Linked DNA regions of Homo sapiens: region 1 is linked to region 2. Evidence: promoter capture Hi-C in 16 types of primary human blood cells and fetal thymus (Javierre and others, 2016). All regions are on one chromosome and are shown on one strand. Each heading gives the region's core, a stretch centred on a gene start or on the middle of the fragment in contact. The rest is flanking DNA. Distances are from core to core; before and after follow the strand shown.

What was found. The method cuts DNA at HindIII sites, captures the fragments that hold promoters and counts their contacts. A CHiCAGO score of 5 or more calls a contact.
Region 1: the fragment with the promoter of TEAD4 here is called in contact with the fragment with the promoter of FOXM1 in region 2 in 1 of 17 cell types (endothelial precursors); the score reaches 5.5 in endothelial precursors.

The regions. Positions count from the first base shown.
Region 1 is chr12:2,957,931-2,960,801 of GRCh38, forward strand. It overlaps TEAD4 (TEA domain transcription factor 4), which reads left to right and starts at 1,467. Exons shown (of 13, transcript NM_003213.4): 1 at 1,467-1,551; 2 at 2,018-2,110. It overlaps LOC124902859 (a long non-coding RNA gene), which reads right to left and starts at 2,118. Exons shown (of 2, transcript XR_007063159.1): 1 at 1,811-2,118; 2 at 1-295. RefSeq lists an enhancer at 1,637-2,372. The HindIII fragment of the contact is 21,466 bases long and covers 1-2,871 here.
Region 2 is chr12:2,875,917-2,878,881 of GRCh38, forward strand. FOXM1 (forkhead box M1) reads right to left here and starts at 1,258. Exons shown (of 9, transcript NM_021953.4): 1 at 1,004-1,258. It overlaps RHNO1 (RAD9-HUS1-RAD1 interacting nuclear orphan 1), which reads left to right and starts at 1,307. Exons shown (of 3, transcript NM_001252499.3): 1 at 1,307-1,366. RefSeq lists silencers at 1,014-1,083, 1,124-1,563. The HindIII fragment of the contact is 3,757 bases long and covers 1-2,625 here.

The DNA.
Region 1 (2,871 bases), core at 217-2,716, 82 kb after region 2:
CCTTGCGTTTTGGTCTTTTCATGTGCATGAGGTGTGACCAAGCCTTGATATGATTCATTATTTAACAAGAATACCACAATTCATCTATTCAAATGAGGGCTGCGTCTTCAACGCCTTCACCTTGCAGGACTGGATGCTTAGCTCAGTCATTGCTTGAAACACTTTTGGAATACCTCTCTTGGAAACAACTTTGGCATCGATAGCACTTTCCTTTCAATATCTTCCACGGTAGCAATTGTTTTTCATTTATGCAGCATTTATCATGCACTTCCCTATCCCAGGCACCAGGCTGGATCTGTGTGAAAGATAAGATAAATCAGACATTACTCTGTCTTCAAGGAAGTTTCTGTTTGGCAAGGGAGATAAGATCTAGACAACCACCCAACACAAGGCTAAGTGATAATGCCCCAGAAAAGGTTGGATTTGATTTTTGGAAAAAGCCAAAAGTCCTTTGGTTTCAGTCTCCTGGCCAGGTAGATGATGGCGCTACCTGCCAGCACACTGCTTTAAGCCCGTTTGTCCTAAGCGTCTCCAAACAAGGAGCCCAGCGTGTTTCCAGCACCTCCTGCCCCAATAAGAGACTCCTGGGCATGTGTGTCTGAAGTCCAGACTCTCACCGATGGCAGTATACACCGAGGCCTCCCCAGCTAAACTCTGAGCTCTTTGAGGGCAGGTGCTGACGGCTGATCCTGATCTTCACAGTATCTGGACTCATCACACATCTTAGATGAATATTCATTGAGTCACTGAGCCCAGAAGGCGTCCCATGGCATGCCACATGGACTTCAAACCGAGTGCCCTTTCTCCCATGTGGTTTACTCGTAGTGGCGGTTTTACAGATGCCCAAGGGGCAGGAGAGAAAAACGGAAAGAGCTAAAGCCGGGGAGGGCAAGCGAGGGGGCACTGGCAGCGGATCTGGGAATGGAGCCCGCGAGTTCCTGCTTCCTGGTTCCCCGGAGCAAGTGTCCTTTGGTGGGAGCCGCAGGAAGGGAGCAGCCCTTCCTGCGCGCCGGGAGCCCGCCCCTTCCCCGGCCTCCCAGGGACTCGTGCGGAGGGACGCCGGGTGGCGGGGCGGGAGTCTGGGCCCCGTCCACCCCCCCGCCCCCGGGACAGCCCCACCCCGGCGAAGAGGAAGGCTCTCGGCTCCTGGGAAAGGGAGTCGGGACCCCGCCAGGAGGGGAGGGCGCGGGGCGCGCAACGAGCAGCCAAACAGTCGGAGCGGAGAGATCGAAGGGCTAGTGGGCGTGGGGGCCGCAGCCGAGGCCCGGGTGGAGGGGTCCCCGCCGTCCCTCGGCCCCCTCCCCCGCCGCCCGCCCCGGCCCGGCCCGGCCCCGCCCCGCCCCGGCGGCCCGGCCCCTCGCCCGCCCGCGCGCGGCGCAGTCTCCTCCCCGAGGTGCCGGTGGCCCCGCCGCCACTCCCTCCGGCTCCCTCCCTCCCGCCGCGGCGCGCATCTCATTCCAGCCCTCATTCCGCGCATTCCAGCGTCCTCCTCGCACACTCGAGGCCAGGGGGCGGGAGGGCCGCAGCTCCGGCGCCGCCGCGTCCCGCCAGGTGAGAGGCGCCCGCGCCCGCCGCACCCGCCGGCGCCCTCACGGGCCGCGCGCCCCACGCCGCCGCAGCCGACCGCTCGCGCCGCGTGCTCGGCTGCTCTTTTCTTTCCGCCGCCCGCGTTCCCGCCTTGGACCTCTGCGCTCCGACGCGCTCCGTCCCGACCTCTGGCTTCCCTCCGCGCTCCGGCGCTGCTCGCTGCCCCTCTCCCGCTTCCCTCCTGTCCGCCCCGCGCTCCCCTCCTCGCTCCCGGTTGACTCACTCCTCCAGGAATAGGGATCCCCGTGTTTTCCCGTCAGTCCCATTCTGGGAAAACTCCTCCCTCCGCGCGCTCCGCTCCGCTCCGCTGGGCGCACCGGGGCCGGTCGGCGCGGGGTGGGCTTGGCCCCGCGGCCCCGCCTTCACTGCGCCGCCCGTCGGCCCCGGCCGGAGCCCGGCTCTGCGCGCTGACGCCCTGTCGTCCCCGCAGAACGATCGCCGCGGCCGGAAGAGTTGGCGCTCGGGGCGGACTCCTTGGAACTGGCTTAGCGCACCCATCCCACCTTCCCGCACCCTGGGACCGGTAAGGCTGGGGCGCGGGGACTTGGTAGGACTTTGCCGGAGGGCAGGAGTCTGCGCGGTGCGTGCGGAGCTCCCTCCCGGGACGAGACTGGGAAGAGCGAGGCACGTGGAGGCGGCGCGACTGAGGCTGCTGGAGGCGAAGCGGCTCCAGGGGCGGGTAAGGGGGGTGGACACTCGGGACTTTGGGGGAAAGGGAGGCCGGTGTGGAAAGGACCGGAGAGGCAGAACCGAGAGCATCGGCAACAGAAGAGACCCAGCACCCATGCCTCTTTTCTGCTGGGCCCTTTTCGAGCCTGGAAGGGAGAGACCTGGAGGTAAGCGGACTGCCTGTTTTAAGTGCAAAGGCGATGCGAAAGTCGGGGGACCCCTGCAAAAGGTCCTACACCTCAGGGCTTGGGAAGCTGCTGTGTTTCCTGATGGGGACTAGTGGATCGATCCAGGGAGCAGAACTTTCAAACCCCAAAGTGAACATTTCCCCCGTTGTGCTGAGGCACTTGAGGCCCCGCGGACTGACTGCGTCTGTGCTGAGTCTGTGTGACACCTGACTGCGAGTCCCCCTCGCTTTGAGTCTCTGTGTGGGTGATGTCTGTTCACGTGTGGCTCACCTTGGCTTCCAGTGGGCGTATTTGTTTGTGTTGAACGTGAGTGACAGAGTGTGTGTATATGTCTGCGTGAGAAGGGGCTGTCTGAAAGTGAGTATCTCTGAGTAGGTGTGTGATGCCACGTCTCTTGAGTATGTGTTTCTCTTCGAGGATGTTGGTT
Region 2 (2,965 bases), core at 8-2,507:
TGCCCAGCTAATTTTTTTTTTTTTTTTTTAGTAGAAACAGGGTTTCACCATGTTTGCCAGGCTGGTCTTGAACTCCTCAGGTGATCCACCCGCCTCGGCCTCCCAAAGTGCTGGGATTACAGGCGTGAGCCACTGCGCCCGGCCTTTTGTTGATTTTAATAGATACATGGAATATTCTACCATTAAGCAAAATTGTGTAATTCTATTTCACGGAACTTTGGAAGACAGAGGAATTGGCTGTCTCTTTTTTAGGACACTTATTCTCTCCCTGAAAAGCAACTGCACTTTTTTGACATTTGTCATCTGCATAGAGTTCACAGGCCCTCCACACCTCTACCTTCAAATCTCAGTTTTACTTTCACCTCCGATCTTTCCAGGCTTCCCTCTCTCCCCGCATCAATCAGTAGATATTATTCCTCTTTTTCCACAGGATATCTAAGTCTTAATTTTCTCTTCTACTTCCTGACCAGCCCGTTATTATTATTGCCAACACTTTCTTGCCCGGGAAACTTCCAGAGTGGCTCCTCCGACCCATCCCCATCCTGAGCGGGGAAATCTTGCTACATTCTCAAGAACCAGGAAAAGGGCCCTGCAAAAGGGTAAGTAAGATGGAGGCGGTGTTGCCTAGTGGTGAGACAGCCTGGGAGCAGGGGAGTGTGTATGCAGGTTGGTCTTTGACTCAATGTAGTACAATCTCAGTCTTCATCTCAGCCACAGTCGGCCTAAGAAGGTAGGCCACCCCAGCCCTCCCGAGGCCGCGGGCAGGGTGCGGAGGTCAGACTTCCAGGGAAGGCCAAGGGGCGCTTTAAGCAGTGAGAAGGCCACGGCCAGGAGGTGGACGCAGAAAAAACTTGCACCCTGGCTCAGATTCTTCCCGTGTGACCCAAATCTCCACTCGTGGCCCGTGCCCTGCTGCTAGACGCCCTGACCTCCGCGCCCGGAGGCCTTGCTCCCCGCCTGTGCCCAGGCCAGGCCTGGGACTCCATTGCTGCATCCCGCTCACCTCCAGACTGCAGTCGCCGCCGCCGTTAGGCCGTAGCTCCGAAGGCGGGCTCCGGGCTCCTCCAACCTGGGGGCCGAGCCAGGGCCCCGGACGGGGGCTCGCGCCGGACCGGCCGGGTCCCCGGCGGTGCGGGCGGGGTGGGAACCCCGGGGGATCCCGGGAGGGGAGGGGGTCCCGGGCCGGGGCCGGGGGTGGGGTCTGGCACCGGAGCTTTCAGTTTGTTCCGCTGTTTGAAATTGGCGCCGGCGGAGCGTTAAGGTCACGTGACGGAACGTCGCCAATCGGCGCCGGCCTTGTCTCGGCATTCCGGGCTCGAAGGCTGTGCGGTCTGCCAGGAGCTGCGGCCCCGTCCGGCCCGGGCTGGTAAGGCGGACCGCAGGCCGGCTTGTGGGGGAAGAAGTGGCCGTGGGGCCGGGGAGGGGCCGGAGGGGTCCCCGCCGCGTGGGTGGGCGAGCCGAGGGAGAGTTTGGGGACGCGCGGAAGCGGCGTGACAGGCCCGGGTCCCTGGGCCCGCTTTTCCTGCCGCGCTGGTCACGCCAGGCGACACGCCCCCGCTTCCCCTCAGGCTCCTCTGCTCCCCTTTTCAAAGCTCGGCTTTAGTTGATTTCCTCACTGGGGGAAATCGTACCCCATTTTCCCACAGTGAACGATCGTCTGCTCCCCCCGATTAGACTAAGTTCCTTTGAGGGCTGCGTATTATCTCCGCTTTCTTCCATCTTGAAAAAAAATGTCGGCACCATGAACCCTACCTCAGCGCGAAACCTGTCTTTTGCCCCTCCCGAAGCCAAGCCTTCGGATATAATAGACCGTAGTGCTTTATTTATTGACTTAGTCAACCAGTCTAGTTGAGCAACTGCTGTGCGCCAGGCACCGCTAGGCCCTGAAGATACAATGGCAGACAAGGTTCTTTCCTTCCCCTGGGCTCACAGCCCAATCCTGGAAGAGGGGCACAGACATTTTAATCAAATAAACAAATGTGGGCTGGGCATAGTGGCTCACGCCTGTAATCCCAGCACTTTAGGAGGCCGAGGCGGGTGGATCACTTGAGGTCACGAGTTCGAGACCAGCCTGGCAACATAGCGAAACCGCTTCTCTACTAAAAATTAGCCGGGCGTGGTGGTGCGTGCCTGTAGTCCCAGCTACTCTGGAGGCTGAGGTGGAAGGATCACCTGAGGCCGAGAGGTGGAGGCTATGGTAAGCCATGATCACACCACTGCACTCCAGCCTGGGCGACAGAGGGAGACACCGTCTCCAAAACAAACAAATGTTGAATTATTGCTGTAAATTGAAACATTAGAGGTTAATGATACTTTGAGTATTTACAATAACGAGATCTTGAGAGGTAGGACAGGAAAGGCTTTTGTAATGAGAGCTTGGTGTGAGATCTGATGCCTTTTACAAAGAAAGGAGGGAACTCCTCTAAGCAGAGGGAATCAGGCGTGCAAAGGCTGGATGGCAGGAGGAAGCACAGTGAGTACAAAGGCTGAGAAATATCTGAGGGGTTTGAGCTAATCGACCTGAATGGAGTGTGGTGTGAGTTGAAGCTGGAGCCGGAGGAAGCAGAGCCTTAGCCATACCGAGAAGTTTTGTGCTTATCCAAGAATTAAAGGAAACCAGTCATAAGCTTTAAGCAGAAGTGAATCCAGGTCAGATTTGCATTTTAAAAGGTCCCTCTATAGCGGGGATTGCTAGAGTGGATTAGGGCAGAACAGTTGGATGTTGCAATACTCCAGGCAAGAACTGCTGGAGCTTGAAAAAGGGTGGCAGGGAGAGAGAGAGAGGAAGAGAAAGAAGGAGACAGAGAGAGTAAAAAAGGGGCATTAAGAAAACATGTTTAAGAGGTAAAGTTGACAGGGCTTGATGGTGGGTTGGATGGGAGGTAGAAGTGTCAAGATTTTCAGCTGCATAACTGAAGGAATAATGACACTATTCCCTGACCAAGGGCCCTGGAAGATAATCACT